Regions from separate parts of the Homo sapiens genome. Here all the other regions are linked to region 1. The links are contacts of gene promoters, found by promoter capture Hi-C in blood cells and fetal thymus (Javierre and others, 2016). All regions are on one chromosome and are shown on one strand. The core of a region is centred on a gene start or on the middle of the fragment in contact, and the rest is flanking DNA. Distances in the headings are between cores, read along the strand shown. Region 1 holds the start of FDX1 (ferredoxin 1). Region 2 has its middle 14 kb from the start of POU2AF2. Region 3 has its middle 2.0 kb from the start of POU2AF1. Region 4 overlaps POU2AF2 (POU class 2 homeobox associating factor 2). Region 5 overlaps POU2AF2 (POU class 2 homeobox associating factor 2). Region 6 has its middle 41 kb from the start of POU2AF1.

Region 1 (2,700 bases), core at 48-2,547:
AAAAACAAATATGCCCAAGAACCTAAAACTTCAACACATTTGGGATAAATTGTCACATTTCTTTCAATATTTAATACAAAACTCTCTTAACATTGTGAACCTAAGAAGCTGCTGCTGCTGCTGCTGCTGCTGCTGCTGCTGCTACCAAGTGGCATCTACTGAGCCCTCATTACGTGCTAGGCACAAGACTACCTGTATCGCTGTATTAACTCATTGATTCTTCAATTAACCATAGGAGGTCTACACTGTTATTATATCCAACTTGCAAATGGAGAAACTGGGTTCCTAAGGACTGACCAAGTTAGGCACGTCAGACAATCAGTGCCAAAGCCAAGTTTCAAGTCCCGGCAGATTACTTCAACGCAGGGGCTTTCAACACTTGAGCAACTAGCAAAGGGCCTACAGGGCAGCAGAGGGTATGGGCTGGGTGTATTCTACCTGGACACCCCCTGACAAAGACCTGGGACCTGGGTGTCCTCTCAAAGCAGGGCAAGGCCCTGAAAAAAACAGCTGGCAGGTGTGTCAGGCCAGGACAGCAGGAGGGAAGCCTGTCGCGAAGGTCACTGCCAGTTTCGGGCAGAGCAAAGGTCAGATCCCAGACAAATCACACGGAGAACAAGCAGCAGCAAAGTCCCGGCTTTCCTCAGGGCACGGGAAGCGCTGGGAAAGGGAGCTGGGCGTCCAGGGTCCCCGATTCCCGCCGGGAGTGGGTGATGCGGAAAGGAACTCTGCGGTGCGACGGAAGGGAGGCAGCGACGCCACCGAGCAGCGAGACGGAGCCGCGAGAGCACCCCAGAAGAGGGGGGCGAGAGGCAGGCCTCCGGGGTGTGGGCCCGGCGCGCAGAAGGCACTGGAACCAGAGACTCGGCCCAGAGAGCCAGGCGCCACCCACCGGGGACCCCGGCCCGCGCCGGCGATCGCGCCCGCACGGCGCCCTACCTGCTCCGGGCCCGCGCCGACACGCTCAGCGACCGGCTCGCCTCCGCGCTCCCGCCCGGCCCCCGGTTCCTCAGCAGGCCGCTGGATCCAGCGCGGGACCCAGCGTGGTGCAGCCACCGGCCGGCCGGGCCGCCGAGGACAGCAGAAGCGGCGCGCAGCAGCCGGGCGCCCCCAGCGGCAGCCATCGCCCGCGGTCGGGAACTGCCGGAAGCGACGCAGGCCGCGCTTTGAGGCCGCGAGAGACTCCAAAGAGGCGGGGGCGGCAGCTGCGGCGCAGACGCCCGAGGGCCGCGGCGAGGGGCGCGGGGCTGGAGTGGCGGAGAGACCCTGCTGGAAGCACCGCGCCGAGGTTCCGCGTGCCTTCCGGGTGACCTATAAAGACATTGGCAAGCAGAGCGCGGCCCCGCCCCGCCTCTCACGCCCACGCCGCCCGGTCCCATGGGGCGGGGCCAGCGCAGGGGGCCTTTACCAACCCTCCAGGTTCCGTTGTAAGCTGGATGCTTTTTTAGCGGCTGAAGTTGCCGTGCAGAAACAAAATATTTTGAAAGATAGCTGGACGTCTAGCGGAAATCGGTTAGCTAGACCACTGTGTTCTGTTCCGCATACCCCCATCCCCTAGCCGTTAAAAAAAAAACTGGGAAATTGTGTCATCTTGGAGTCAAGTTAGAGCAAAGTGAATTCTGCCCACTGTAAAACAAAAACAGTGGGAAATTTTGGAAAATCTCAGAATGCTATTATACAAAGAAATAATTATGACTATAAAATTGTAAATGAAATTAATGAATAGGCTTGGGGCTCCTGCAGAGGACAGGTAGCCATCCTAGACCTTGACTGGCAAGTAAATGCTGGCTGAGTACATGAAACCCACGAGACTGAACCGGAAACTTTGTGATGAGCTGAGATCTCTAAAAGACTTTCACAAAAAACAGAAAAGATGAACTTTAAAATACACCTTATCATGGTTCATATGTTGTGGGAAATGCATGGGCTTTAAGGTCAGAAATAGCAATGTTCAGATCCAAGATCTACTGCTTTAGAGATCTGAGACCTTGGAAAAATTATTCTCATGGAGGATCAGAGTTTCCATAACTCTCAAACACAGATAAGATGTTCCAGCCTTCAGGGCCATTCTGATGTTAATCTAATACGCAATGCACACCGTGCGTCACAAACCAGGAAGGCTACCGCTTCCTGGGCCTTCCTCCATCAGGGTACTCATAAAGAGGCTAAAGGCCAAAGTCAAGGGGATATTGCAGATATGCTAAACACAATCAGATACTTTTTTTTTCTTTTTTTGACATGGGGTCTCTCTATTCTGCCCAGGCTGTAGTGCAGTGGCGAAATCTCGGCTCACTGCAACCTCCGCCTCCCAGGTTCAAGTGATTCTCCTGCCTCAGCCTCCCGAGTAGCTAGGACTACAGGCGTGTGCCACCACACGCCACTAATTTTTGAAGATTCAGAACAAGAAAGTGTAAGCATGAGTAAAGTATCTGCGGACAATGTATGGTGCTTTCTGGAACCCAATGGCAGAGAGAAGGCAGTGGCTCCTAATTGCCTCAAATCGTTGGATGAAGAGAAAGTCTTTCAAGCTGCGAAGGGCACAGCAAACCCTGACAAGTAATCTTGAAGAGGAGGTTGTAAAAGAACAGCTAACTTTTGTTTTTAGTAAGACCAAACTTCCAAGGTCGGATGAATTAGTTGTAGGAAGAGAATTGAAAAGAAAAAAAATCGTAGATGTTCTGTCTTCTCTCAGCCCTCCTG
Region 2 (2,700 bases), core at 82-2,581, 800 kb before region 1:
GATTGCACCACTGCACACCAGACTAGGTGATAGAGTGAGATCCTGACTCAAAGAAAAAATGAAGGCCAGGCACAGTGGCTCATGCCTGCAATCCCAGCACCTTGGAAGGCCAAGGTGGGCGGACCGTGAGGCCAAGAGATCGAGACCATCCTGGCCAACACGGTGAAACCAATGTACCACATTTTCTTTATCCAATTTATCATTGATGGACATTTAGGAGCATTTCTATATATATTTTAATCCTCAAACTTTGGTTCATACTGTTTTCTCCACTGGTAACATTTTCTTCTGTTGTTTACTAAAATTTTATTTATCCTTCAAATCTTATCTTATACACATGTCCTCTGTGAAGACTTTCCTGTTGTCCCTGAACTGAAGGTGATTCCTTCCTCATTTGATCCCTGCAGATCTCTCTATTGTATTTGTTTTTCTTCTCTCAACTGTACTTATTCCTTTACTTGCTTTGTGTTCCCATTAGATCTTGAGTTCTGAGAAGGCTGAACTACCTATCTCCTGTAAAATGTGACCCAGAACCTTTTAAATAGTAAGTGCTCAAATATTTACTGAACATAGGGAAATTCTCTGAAAGGTGGTGAGGAAATAAAATGGAAGAGTCACTGAATGACTGAGTCCAGAAAAATAGCTTGATATTTTTCTGAACTGTAACATGAGAGATAAATAAACTTTATTTTGAAGACACTGTAACTCAGGGCCTGTTACAGCAGTTTAGCCTTTCAGGCATATACAATTGGAAACACGACTATGTTAAGTATGTTATGACATAAATACATCACTAATATAGACATAGGAAGGCTCATTCATTCATTGATCCCTGGGGATGATCAGTTCTGTATGATAAATAAATAAAGACCCAAGGGAGATCCCTTTAGCCTACATAAGTTTAGGGAGCTCTTCAATGGCCTGAGCTTTTGCAATAAGGAGAAACAGCAGTCTGGCAGCTGTGGCAGGAATCTGAGATCAAGTGGAGAGGCTCCTGACACGACTCTGACCAGCAAAACCATCTGACCGCTAGTGAGACTGAGCCCTGAGCTCAGCTTAGAACAAAAGGTGAAGTCACACTTCACTCAAGGATAGAGTCAACATTAAAAAGTGAAAATAAAGGTGAGTCAAAATAGAAAAGAGAGAACGGGGCAGGGGAGCCTGAAACTTTAGGGAGCTGAGTTACAGAGGCTAAAGGAAAGGTGAAGGAGTGAGTTGCAGTGTCAGTCCTGATATGCCCGAAGGGCAAGTCCTTGATGGTCAAATAGAAGAAATGCCATCCTCTGCCTTGGTCTGAATACTGAGGGGTTGCTGGGGCTGGGGTGCCTGGAGAGCAGATGTAACAAAGCCCAGGGGCAGAGAGAAACATCTAGAGTATCATTCTTAGAAAACATAACAGAATATCAATGCCTGCAGGGTCAAGGGTTCCATCACACCTTGCACGCTGCTAACCTGAACAGACTTGGGACCAAATCTGTACAGACTGACCATCATTCAACCTGGCATAAATTGACACTAAACTTGGCCACTTCCTGAATCTGATTTTGTCTGTTTTCCACCTCTCCTGTCTGATCCTTTGAATGCTTGAAATTTCCCCATCTCCCCAGGTTTCTAGAGGTGGAGTGAGGGAGCCCAATCAGCTGCCTAGTTTCCTGAGGTTGGACCCTGGCACAAACCCTTCTTATCAACCATCCTGAATTGACTTCACCAGTTGACAGCCTCATCTGCACCTGACACCAATGTATGAACATTGCTCAGAGTTCTAGAAGCTGTATTTAAACCTCTCCCCTCAGACTGAATCTCCTATCTGCCCTCCTTTCCCTAACTCTCCTTATTCACATGCCTAATCTAGACTACAGTTCTTTTGGGGGTGTTGAAATCCATTGACCTGACCTACTAACCTCCCTCACATAAAAGTTCTTGACCCTGGCCGGGCGCGGTGGCTGACGCCTGTAATCTCAGCACTTTGAAAGGCTGAGGTGGGCGGATCACCTGAGGTCGGGAGTTCGAGACCCCTGGCCAACATGGCGAAACCCCGTCTCTACTAAAAATACAAACATTGGTCAGATGTGGTGGCACGAGCCTATAGTCCCAGCTACTCGGGAAGCTGAGGCAGGAGAATCGCTTGAACCCGGGAGGCGGAGGTTGCAGTGAGCCCAGATCGGGCCATTGCACTCCAGCCTTGGCAACAAGAGCGAAACTCCGTCTCAAAACAAAACAAACAAACAAAAACAAAAAAACCCGAACAACAACATAATAGTTCTTGACCAGGCTGGCATAAAAAGGACATCTTTTAATGATGCGTAGCTGTAGGCTAGAGGGGAATGCAGAAAGGAGGCTTTGAGCATGAGTAGTTTTTGCTTTCGATTCCCTTTTCCTGCCTTGGGCGATCACGATTTCCCCTCTTGCCTCCTTTCACCAGGGACATTCATTTGGGAGTATTTTCAGTTTAAGCCACTAGGTGGTGCCTCAACCCTATCCGCAGCTCGCCAAAAGGGCTTGCCCCGGCAGCTGGGCAAGAGCGAGGATTTTTTTGGGAACTGCAGTGACCTGGAAGGAAGGTACTCTTTTCTTCCTGAAAATCGCGGACATCAACCTGAAATGCTCCTTCCATGACTGGTTGCAGAGAAGGAATCCATTTCCCGACCTTCCCTGCCTATCCCTCCAATTCTTTCCCCTACGCTTTGCTGTGGATCACTA
Region 3 (2,700 bases), core at 174-2,673, 950 kb before region 1:
TCTGCTTAAGTGAAATGCAGCGCTCACACACCATAGAATACTTTGCAGGTGTTAAAAGTGGTGCACAGAATGTCTACATCAATGTGGATAGATCTTACAACACTGTGCTGAATTAAAAAATAAGAAACAGCGTGAAATGTGTAATATAACATCACCTACATAAATTAAAAATCTATACATGCCAAACAATACAGATCTTATAAGAACAGGCACAAATGTCTACAAATAAAAGCTTCAGCATCAACCACTGAAAAGAGTTGCCCTGATTGGAATGGTGGGTGGGTGATGGGGGTATGAGGGGACAGGAAAAAGAATAGACATGGAAAATGAGGGGGAAAGTAGATGAATGAATAAATAAATTACTGAGCAAAATAAGATAGGGGCTTTTCATAAATCAAAAATGATGAGAATGAAGATGATTAAAGGCTAAATGAAAAGAAAAGATTAAGACTTGGCAGAGGTAATGACATGTAATAAGCACTCTGTAAATATTTATTAAATGATGGAAGAAATGAAGTCGATGGTGAATCTTTTTGCAAAGCTAAAATTTATTTCACAATATGAATCAGTGCGCTTTAATAAATTATTTTAGAAGTTTTGATGTTTGTATATCAGATTCTTTAAAAATGTGAGCACACCTGTATTTGGAGTCATCTGGACCATGTTCACAGATTTTTTCTTCTTTTCTTCCACTTCTTGAGACATTGCATAAACATAGTCGCCTCTTTTGAACTATGCCATGCAGTTTGACTTTTGATTCTAAGTCACAGAAAATGTTTTCCTGGAAAATATTTGCTGTTTCGATCAAGTCTTGATTCCAAAGCATCTGCCTGTATGTGGTCACTGATATGCAGGGTATTTGCTGGAAGAAATGAGCTGGAATCTGCCTCATGAGCTGTGAGGCCATAAGAGGTGATGGGTTTATCGCTGGCCATGATGGTGGGCTTGCCCACTGACATTTTGTTTTTCTGCCACTGTACAAGATCTGATTTGTCAGAGTAGCTCTGGGTCTCACCTTTTCCTTCCCTCTTTCCAGAGGACAGAAATTTATTCCGGGGGATATAGCTTCTGTTGATCTGCTTCAGGTTTTAATAATAATGATCCTATATTACTACTAACAAACATGGCTGACACTTGGCATTTACTGCTTTCAACTTAATAAATATCTTTTATTTTAATGATTTAGAGCTCTGGCTCTAGTCAGATGAACTTGGGTCTGGCACCAGCCTATAACCTGATAGCTTGGTGACATTGGACAGATGAAATTCCCTAAGCATTTGTTTGTTTCTCTGAACAATACAGGTAGACGTTTCCTTGCAGCGTTGTTGTGGTGACTAGATTAGGTAATGTATTTAAGGCTTAACATGGAGCCTCTTGCACAGTAAGTGGTTATATTATTACTTTGTGGAAATCATCATGCTAGGCCTGTGGGGAGAAACTGAGATGAATAAGAAAAAGTTCTGAATTTCACGGACTTGGAGAGAATAAGACATGACCAAAAGAGACAAAAGACAGACCCGTGGGAGAGAGGACCAGCGAGGCCACATATCCTCCTACGAACCTGTGAGACACTCACAGAACTGGTTCTTCATTTTATAGATGAGGAAACTGAGGCTAGAAGAGTTATGTGACTTGTTGAAGGGGACACAGTGAGTGAGTGTCAGAGCCTTCATGGGAACCCACGTCTCCTGTGACTGAGGCAGGCCTGAGGGATGTGCCTCTGTTTCTCATGGAAACTCCTTGGCGCAGCCCAAGGCCTTGAGATGCTGCCCCCTGCCAGGCCAGGGTGTGGGCTGCCAGCCACCACAGCATGGGGGCCTCCACTGTCCTGAACTTCAGAGGCTTTGCGGGGAGGGCTTATAGGCAGCCAGGAGACAGCCTTCTCTGGCTTTTAAGTGAATCATTTATAAAATGTTGACAGCATTTCTCCTCAAGACCTGCCCTCAAATCAGCAACCGATTAGAGACAGTAATTCATAACTTTATCAGATGAATTTTTATTGGGGGTCACTATGCTCCAGGTCTTGTGTGGGGCACTGGAGAGGCAAAGATGAAACCTCCTTGAGAAACTGTCAGAGTCATGTGACAATTCACCATCACATAATGAACAAAGTGCTCTAAGATCTGAGAAGACGAACAAGTATTCTCTGGGCTGGGGGTTTGTCCTTCCGGCAAGAGAGGACGGCAAGGTCAAAGGCAGGGAATTGCATGGGTGTTTGGTGGTGCTTAGAGGGCACTGGGACCAGTGGTAGGAGGGCAGTTGGTGGTGAGGCTGGAAAGGAAGGCAACGGCTCGATTGTGGGAGGCCTTCTAGGCCTCCAGCTCTGTGGCTGAAGGGAGAAGGTGAATGCTTTGTAGGCTAGGGGATAGCATGATCAGGTCTAGGTGGTGCAAGATGGCTCTGAGGCAGTATGGATGGCAGAGCAGCAAGGCCCCACACCTGCTCTAGGGGGTGTGCCAAGGGGTCTTGACCCCAAACTGACTGAGTCCCTGGAGCCTGAGCATGTGGACCTCAGATATGCAGTGGCAGAAGGCTTCCAAACTGTGAAGGAACCGGTAGCCAACACCATCTACACTTCCAGATGGTGAGCCCATGACTTACTTAAAGAAGCTTCCTGTTATCAGTGGGTGGGCACTCGCAAAGAGGCTCTGTTCATCTTGTGCCTACAAGCCCAGATCCAGTCAAAGAGCACGGGCATGT
Region 4 (2,700 bases), core at 148-2,647, 820 kb before region 1:
AGGGAAGAGTTTGGAATGCATCCTCTAGGCCATACGCCATTGGGGGCTTTTAAGAAAGACAGTGATGTTGGTTTGATTTGCATTTTATATAGACTTTTCTGGCAGCTGAGAGGAAGGTGGTTTTGAGAATCACAAAGCTGCGGGAAGATCAGTCAGGAGGGTTCTAGAATAATCCAGGCAAGAGCTGATGGGGACTGAGTAGTGGTGGATGGGAGGGCAAGGATCAGACAGGTTTGAACATTATTTAAACATGAGAGAGAAGAAGATTCAAGGGTGAATCTCAAGTTTCCACCATGGAATTGCTCTCAGTACATAAGTTTCAGAACCATCGTGATGTGGATGGTAATGAAACCAAGAAAGAGGATGAAATCCCTTGGGGGAGTGATTGAAAGATAAAGTCACATGGTGGCACACATAGAAAAGAATAATGAGCACCTGGCATACTGGGGTAAACAGGTCAGGCTACTTCCAAGAGCTAAGAGGATCAGTATCTTTGGAATGCCTATAACACTGATTTCTGACACACAGGTTTGGAAGCTGTGGACTAAATGATTAAAGATGGAAGCCTGGGGAACAGTGACATTTGAATGGTTGTCAGAGGAGGAGAGGAGAACCCTATGAAGAAGATAAGGGAAGACTAATTGGAGAAGAAACAGGAAAAACCAGGGGAATAAAGCATCCTAGAATTCTGGGGAAGAGATTTCAAGAAAGAAATTAAAAAAAATCAGAGGCAACAGAGTAGTTCAGGAAGATAAAGACAGAAAAACATCTCTTACTTTCAATTCAGTGGTTGGCATTGAGCTTACCAAGAATAACTCAGAAGTGCGGGGTGGCTGGAAGCCAGACAATAATGTCAATGGAGGAGGTAGACACAGGAAGGGGAGACTATTTCTTCTTGAAGTTTGAATGAGAAAGGGAAACAAGAGATTGAGTGATAATTAGAGAGAATTATGGTGTCAAGGAGAGGTTTGCTTATGTTCTTATATCTATTTATGCATTTATGAGTGGGAGAGAGTTGAAAATATTTGAAGAGGACAGAGGGAAGACTAATGGCTTAGAAGAGAGGGACAGAATGATGGAAAGAGGTCTTGAAAAGGCAGAAAGAAATTAAGGTCAAGGGCACAAATTGACCCTCAACTTCTGAGACTGAAATACAGAAAGTCAGGGTGTGGGCGGGGTGGTGGTATGGCCAGTTACTACGACCGCTCTAGTGCACATCAAGCAGGCTGGCATAGGAGAGCAATTCAAAACTGGGCAGAACCAGGCAGGGGTCAAAGCCAGACAGACAAGTCAAAGAATATACGTCGGTGATTCTCAAATGTGATCCCTGGACCAGCAGCATCAGCATTGTCTAGGAACTTGCTAGAAATGCAAATTCGCCGACCCTACTCCAAATGTACCGAATCAGAAACCCTAGGGTGGGGCCTAGCCTTCCAGGTGATTCTGATGCTCTCTGACGTTGGAGAACCACAGATATACATATGAGTAAGGCCTTTAGAAGGTTCCTGTGGAGGTGGGGTGGTCAACTCTAATCTACGCAGTCCTGGCTGAGCAAGAGGGGGAGTATCTGACTGACTGAGGTCGATGTGGACTTAGACAACTCTGGGAAGGAGGAGGGCCTGGGAATTGAGGAGGTCCAGGCTGGATCCTTTGTATATTTGCAGACTGTCTCTACTTTGCTTTTTAAAGTGCTTTTTAATTGATGATTTTTATCTGAATTAGCAATCTATACTTTATGTGTATGCCAAAAAGCCTAGGGGAAATACACCTATTCTAAATAAGTTTAACAAATAACCACATGGTGATTAATAGAGGAATAAAGTTCATGAGATGGCAAATATCCAGATCAAAACTTCTGAAGTTTTGTCATAAAACAATCAGTCTTATGTACCAGTTGGCACTGACTTAGTGCAAAGCACGGGGCTATATGCCACAGGGGATGCAAAATAACTTTAGAACATATAGCAGATGTCCTCAAAGAGATCTTATTTTAGTGAGAGAAATCAGACATTCACATGTGAAAGAGCAGGGGAGGGGGAAGAGTACACTTTGGATTGTTGATGAAAGTTTTGTGGGAAGGGATGGGACTTAAGCTGGAATGAGAAGCATGTGGACAGGTTAGGAGGAAGGAGAATGACCTTGTAGACAGCAGGCATCTGTGAGCAAGAACAAAGAGACAGGAAGCAGAAAAGATGTGTGCAGTGGTAAGGAATGAGTACAATTGGAGATACTAGATTTAAATGCCATATAGATGTAATCGAGTTTCAAATGGGTATCTCCAGCCCAGACGTGGACTTCAGTCTTGGATATCCATTTATGATTGGATGTCTAGTAGACATCTCAAACTCCACACATCCAAATATGAACTCCATTCTTCCTTTCCACATTTGTTTTATCTGAAACTTTTCCTATCTCAGTTGATGGCAGCCTGTCTTTGTGGTGACTGAGTCCTGAAGCTGTAGAGTCATTCTAGGCTCCTCTGTCTCATCTTTCACAGCCTATTCTTTAGCAATTCCTGATGGTGCTACCTACAAAATACATCCAGAGTCTGCTGACTTTTCTTTACTCTTCTGATAATATCCAGGCTCCATCCAGGGCAATTTCTACAGTAATGTAGATTACTGTGGCAGCCTTCCAACTGTTTTTCCTGCTTCCACATCCACCCTGCCCTAGTCTAGTTTCAACACAGTAGACAGGATG
Region 5 (2,700 bases), core at 35-2,534, 850 kb before region 1:
AGAAGATATAAGTGCCTGTCTTCCTTACCTTACCCCAACCACAGCAGCAGACCACTTCTGAGCTTCTGATTCTATAGACACAGAATTCCAGCCCGTTCCACAGGATGTGGCACTTTATATTATGCTCATTCCTCTTTCACCTGAGTCACAATGATCTTTCCAGTCAACCTGCGAGCCCAAGGGGGCAGATCTCATGCCTTATACATTTTCTTTAAACCTAGTAGTATAACATTGTGTTCAAGAATGGCATGTGAATTTATTCATCCAGAAGAAGAAATCAAAATTCCCCATCAAAACCTGTGGCACGACTCCACTCACTTCACTTTCATCTTACATTCTATAACTTCTAACCTGCTCATGCATTTGAAAGCTGAAGTTAGGGTTTTCATTATAAGCATACTTCCTTGGGAAAAAATCTGTGCAGCTGAACCTTAATATAAATAAATAAGGTTCTGTTTCATACAATGAAATTATATTTATGAGAGCGGTTAAGGTTGAGAATATGAAAACAAGGTTTCCAGGCTCTCATCTATACTCCCAATTTCCAAATCAAAACAACCACGAAGAAAAAAGCCTCTGCTCTCTTAGCATGGATTTTCTCTGTACAAAGAGAAAGGATAATTTCTAGATAAAGAGAAGCTATGGAAATTTTTCTTTTTTTTTTCTGTAGAAGGCAGGAGATGCCACCAAATTTCAATGGCACTATATATGATTGGGAAACAACATACAGACATTTAAATATTCGGGATCCTCGATTGCTCTTATTCCTTTCCCTTATCCAGCTCTGAAGGTGATAAAACTATTAGGGAATGTGCCGCGTCTGAGTTGAACTAAATGAGATTGTCTTTGCCTGTGTGGTGTGTGTTTATACAAGAATGTCCAACAGTATTATTAGGAATTCCCCTTTTACATCCCCACAGGAGTATTTAATGAGACATAGGCATTGAAATGAATTCAAAATACTGAACCAAATGCCTGACTCCCTCTGCTCGCAGACGGCTTTCCCCTTTCTGTTTGAAAGCAGATGCCTCATCTATCAGATCATGGTGTCAGAACTTTAGACAATTTAAAACTGTATCAAGGGCATAATTTATATTGCCTTTGCCCCAAAAGCTTGGGATAAAAGGGCTGCTTTCAAGACAAAATGAATTTTAAATTCAGAAATTACTGCATGAGTTCTGTCCTTCGCTGATTTTGTATTTTAGACAAAACTATTTTAAAGGAGCAGAGTTTTGGAAGTGTTGTAAGGTCGTTATGAAAGAATGGAAGCCCAGATGCTTGATTTAAATTCAAAAGGGAATAATTGCTTATTGAATTAAAGTACTCACCTGGCATCTGCACAAATGGAGACTGAGAGGAACTGACGCTGCCCTGGAAGGTAAACAGAATTCAAGTGTTTTCTTTAGTTGTAAGTTTGAATTTAATAAAAATTAGGAATACACCTTATAAGCTTGGTTTTATGATATTCAGAAGTATTATCTGGGGAGTTGGGTTGACCCTCAGGTCAACTGAGAATAAGAATTCAAGTACCATAGAACAAAGTTTTACAAGGGACAAAGAGCAACCACACTTTTACATTTTGATAAACATGCCAGAAAGCACTGGCTGGATGAAATGTAGTAATTTATCCTTCATCTTCTACTGTTCCAGTTAACATTCCCTCATCCAATATATATTAAGTGACTATATATACGCATATCCAGTAGCCTCCCCTTACCCACGAGGGATATGTTCCAAGACTCCCCAGTGGGTTCCTAAAACTGAGGATAGCACCACACCTGATTGCCATCATGTCCTCCACCCACAAACTCAATGCCTTTTCCATCTTAGCTAAGAATTTATCATGCATTGTGGCCACAGTTTTGCAGTTCGAGGTGCAACAGCAAAACTCGCATGAATTTCTTTCGCCTTCTTCACAATTTCACAGACAAAAGATTTGTTCTTACCATACCAATGTCTGACCTCAGCATACATTTTTTTTCTTTCCTTATTAAGTTGAGAACGTTTACTTTTTCATTTAAAGGAAGCACATTCCGGCTTCTCTTTGGCATATCTAAATTGCCAGTGTCACTACTCTTGTGCTTTCGGGCCATTGTGAAATACAATAAGGGTGACTTGAACACAAGCACTGCCATACAGAGACAGGTGATCCAATCACTGAGTCGGCTACTGAGACACTAACGGGCAGGTGGTGTAGACAGTGTGGATTGGCTGGACAAAGGTAAGATTCAAGTCCTGGGCAGCACAGAGTGGGACTGAATGAAATTTCATCACACCACTGAGAAAGGCATGCCATTTAAGATCTAGAAATTGTTTATTTCTGGAATTTCGCATTTAGTATGTTCAGACTGCAGTTAACCATGAGTAGCTGAAACCTCAGAAAGGGAAACCATGGCTAAGGGGCGCCTACTGTATGTGTGTATGTGCATACATGCACTTAGTGTTTGGCTTCAGCACTGAAGGGCCACTTCAATGTTTACTGTCTGAATCCATGTGGAGGAAGAAGCTCCACCAACTGTAGGGACCTTGACTGTGATGTGCCCTCAGTGCCTAGAACAGGGTGTAGTTCATAATAGACGTAAGAAAAATATGTGGAATGAAGACACAATCTTCAAAGAACCCACAGGCTAGAGAGCAGGGAGAGGTTGGGGAATGTGGTGGGTTGCATTATGTGCCCCCTCCAAAAGATATATATATATA
Region 6 (2,700 bases), core at 144-2,643, 990 kb before region 1:
CCTGCCCTTCGGGAAACACACGTGCAAACCTAAATTTTGTCTTTGCAAATCGGTTGACTAGCTGTGCTTGCTAGAAGCAAAGTAGCTCTCATGAATTATCCAGTTTGGAGTTTTTCAGATCATGATGAACTCAGACACAAAGCCAGGTCTCCTCCTTTGTATGGAGGCAACATTAGGTAAAGGGGAGGGCTGAATGCTCAGGTCAGCATAGCTAATTATGCCATCTCATCCTCCCCCAAGCCCTTCTATGGCTCTGGCTGCTCTTAGAGATAAAAACCCTTTAGATAGTCTACGAGGCCCTATATGAGGTGCCCTCTCTGAGAGCTAGGCTCTTGAGATCCATTGCACACCAATCTCTGGACTCCAGCCACTTGGGACCTTGGTTCCTTGATTCTGTCACGCTCTCTCCAGCCTTAAGGCCTTTGCATAAGTTACTCCTTTTTCCTGGCATGTTCTTTCCCATCCCTATCCCATCCTTTTTTCTAGGTAATTTACTCTCACCTTTTAGGGACTAGCCTAGGTGTCCCTTTCCCAAAGGAGCCTTCTGGGACCTCCAAGATTGTGTTCCATCATGTACTCTCAAAGTCCTTGGTAGCACTTATTACAATTATTAGTGTTTTGAATTGTATAATTGATTCATTTTTCTCTGCTAGAATGTAAGCTTCATGAGGGTAAGGCCTGTTAGTTTATTTTTTTATCCTGTCAACCACTCAGCATAATGCTTGGCACAAATTAGGTGCTCAATAAAAATGTGTTGAATGAATGCATGAATGAACGGGGTCACCAGGTTGCTACTGCAATCCCTCTGGCATTCTACTAGACAAACTGTGTCTCAAACTGTTGAATGCTGTTTCTTGTTCTTACCCATTACAGGGGAGAACCACAGGTGGGCAAAGTAGCTCTACATACAGCTCCTGTGACTTTTGAGGCTTAACTCTTGTGAGATGATCATGGTCTCATCTCCCCCTGTTTTATCTCCCCCAGAGTCTCTGCTAAGGCAGAGTCCACACCCTACCATGCCCACTGCCTTCTTCCTCCTGATCCTTGGTCTTTTGGTCTTTGTGTAAAAAATGTGGCTTTCTCCAGGCAAAGCCCAGAATGCCACCTGGTCCAAGGAGGATTGTTGGCTATGATCTCCTCAGTTTCACTTCCAGAGCTGGCTGCTCAGATTGGTCTACCCTGCTGTGGATGCAATTTCAGGATGAGGTTGAAGAGCAGGTCATCTGGACTGCTGGGATGATTTTAAAGGAAACTTTAATATCTCCTGGACAAGCCAGCAGCTGGTGTCTGCAAGTCCTCCAGGACTTTGCACCTTGAGACTTGGATTCAGGGGCAGCTGAGAAGATAGACTGTGAACTTTCCTTTGCCGAGAGAACTGGACTACAGCTTAATGGCTGGACCCTAGGCATCTCTAGGACACTACAGTTGTCCATTGTAGATTCCTTTACCTCAAGCCACTTCTGGACCTGCCTGTCCTTGGGTGCCTGGTGCTGAGTCAGCAACACCTCCCTCCTGTCTTGGCAATGTGTGGCCAAACTAAGCCAAGTCTGATTATAATGGGTTGGTTCATCTAGAAGCTCACATCCCGTACTCTTTTTCCAATATGGCACTTAGCCAACTGGCACCCAATAGTGAAGAGTGACTCTGGGAACTGAGGCTGCTGAGGACTCATGACCCTGCAGAAGCCAACAGCAAAAGCTGTGTGGAGGGTGAAGCCATCCCGCTGCCAGGCCTCTCTCTCTGCTCCATGTCAGTTCCTGTCTGGCAGCGCCATGGCCTTGGCTGGCAGTCAGAGACCCGCTGCTGGTACTTGCTGGTGGCTTGGCTCTCTTCCATCTAGCCAGGGCATTTGGACCTTTTTTCTATGTTCTGCTTATGAGCTTGGGAAGCGAGCCAGTGGTTCTCCTTGGAAGTTGCCTCCATCCTTGTCATTTCCCACCCTAGTCCCAAGGGAGACATGTTTCTTTCTCTCTTCCGTATTGACACCTTCTCTTGCCTTTGGCTCAAATACAGACACCTCAGGTAGCACCAGTGCTGTGGGGAGGCCAAGGGGCGAGGGGCACGTACAGGAAGTGGTGGTGGCAAAATAGAGTTAAGTTCGGTTACCAGTGCTGGATGAAGCTTTGTATCTCTAGGGTTGTCAGTCAGCCAAGAAGGAAGGCAGTTACAGGCCTAATTCTTGGTTCCTGAACTGATTGGCTGTAGCTTTTATCAGGGACTCACTGGCACTTCTCTGAGCATCAGTGTTAACTTCTGTCATGGGCTGAATTGTGCAGCCTCCTTCTTCTCCTCCAAGTTTATAGGTTGACTTCCTAATCCCCAGTACCTCAGGATATGACTCTATTTGGAGATAAGGTCTTTAAGGAGGTTATTTAGGTAAAATGAGGTCATATGAGTAGGCCCTAATCCAATATGACTGGTGTCCTTATGAGAAGAGATTAGGACACAGATAGGTATAGAGGGAAGACCATATGAAGACAAAGAGAGAAGGCGGCCATCTGGAAGCCAAGGAGAGGAGCTCCCAGAAGAAACAACCCCGCTGACACCTTGACCTTGGACTTGCAGTCTCCACAATGGTGAGGAAGTAAATTTCTGTTCTTTAAGCCATCCAGTCAGTACTTTGTTTTGGCAGCCCTAGTGAACTAAAACAAACTCCTGCAGACGTGGCAGAGAGGGTTTGCAGAAGGGCCAAGAGAACGG

The links. The method cuts DNA at HindIII sites, captures the fragments that hold promoters and counts their contacts. A CHiCAGO score of 5 or more calls a contact.
Region 2: a fragment that was not itself captured here is called in contact with the fragment with the promoter of FDX1 in region 1 in 12 of 17 cell types (total CD4 T cells, naive CD4 T cells, fetal thymus and 9 more); the score reaches 13.8 in total CD4 T cells.
Region 3: a fragment that was not itself captured here is called in contact with the fragment with the promoter of FDX1 in region 1 in 4 of 17 cell types (naive B cells, naive CD8 T cells, activated CD4 T cells and 1 more); the score reaches 5.8 in naive B cells.
Region 4: a fragment that was not itself captured here is called in contact with the fragment with the promoter of FDX1 in region 1 in 1 of 17 cell types (naive B cells); the score reaches 7.2 in naive B cells.
Region 5: a contact is called between a fragment that was not itself captured here and the fragment with the promoter of FDX1 in region 1, in 1 of 17 cell types (total B cells). The highest score is 5.5, in total B cells.
Region 6: a fragment that was not itself captured here is called in contact with the fragment with the promoter of FDX1 in region 1 in 3 of 17 cell types (total B cells, naive B cells and fetal thymus); the score reaches 8.5 in total B cells.

What each region holds. Positions count from the first base shown.
Region 1 is chr11:110,428,545-110,431,244 of GRCh38, reverse strand. FDX1 (ferredoxin 1) reads right to left here and starts at 1,297. Exons shown (of 4, transcript NM_004109.5): 1 at 940-1,297. The coding sequence starts at 1,124. RefSeq lists an enhancer at 484-763 and a silencer at 834-1,483. The HindIII fragment of the contact is 8,631 bases long and covers 1-2,700 here.
Region 2 is chr11:111,230,336-111,233,035 of GRCh38, reverse strand. No RefSeq gene overlaps it. Among named protein-coding and RNA genes, the nearest start is that of POU2AF2, 14 kb to the left of the region's middle. The HindIII fragment of the contact is 5,671 bases long and covers 1-2,700 here.
Region 3 is chr11:111,379,957-111,382,656 of GRCh38, reverse strand. No RefSeq gene overlaps it. Among named protein-coding and RNA genes, the nearest start is that of POU2AF1, 2.0 kb to the right of the region's middle. RefSeq lists enhancers at 2,226-2,445, 2,666-2,700. The HindIII fragment of the contact is 2,378 bases long and covers 235-2,612 here.
Region 4 is chr11:111,251,061-111,253,760 of GRCh38, reverse strand. The region is part of intron 1 of POU2AF2 (POU class 2 homeobox associating factor 2); the gene reads right to left. Among named protein-coding and RNA genes, the nearest start is that of POU2AF2, 6.7 kb to the right of the region's middle. The HindIII fragment of the contact is 3,728 bases long and covers 1-2,700 here.
Region 5 is chr11:111,280,069-111,282,768 of GRCh38, reverse strand. It overlaps POU2AF2 (POU class 2 homeobox associating factor 2), which reads right to left. Exons shown (of 5, transcript NM_198498.3): 3 at 1,329-1,371. Among named protein-coding and RNA genes, the nearest start is that of POU2AF3, 17 kb to the left of the region's middle. The HindIII fragment of the contact is 337 bases long and covers 1,116-1,452 here.
Region 6 is chr11:111,418,789-111,421,488 of GRCh38, reverse strand. It overlaps a transcript of BTG4 not described here. Among named protein-coding and RNA genes, the nearest start is that of POU2AF1, 41 kb to the right of the region's middle. The HindIII fragment of the contact is 1,460 bases long and covers 664-2,123 here.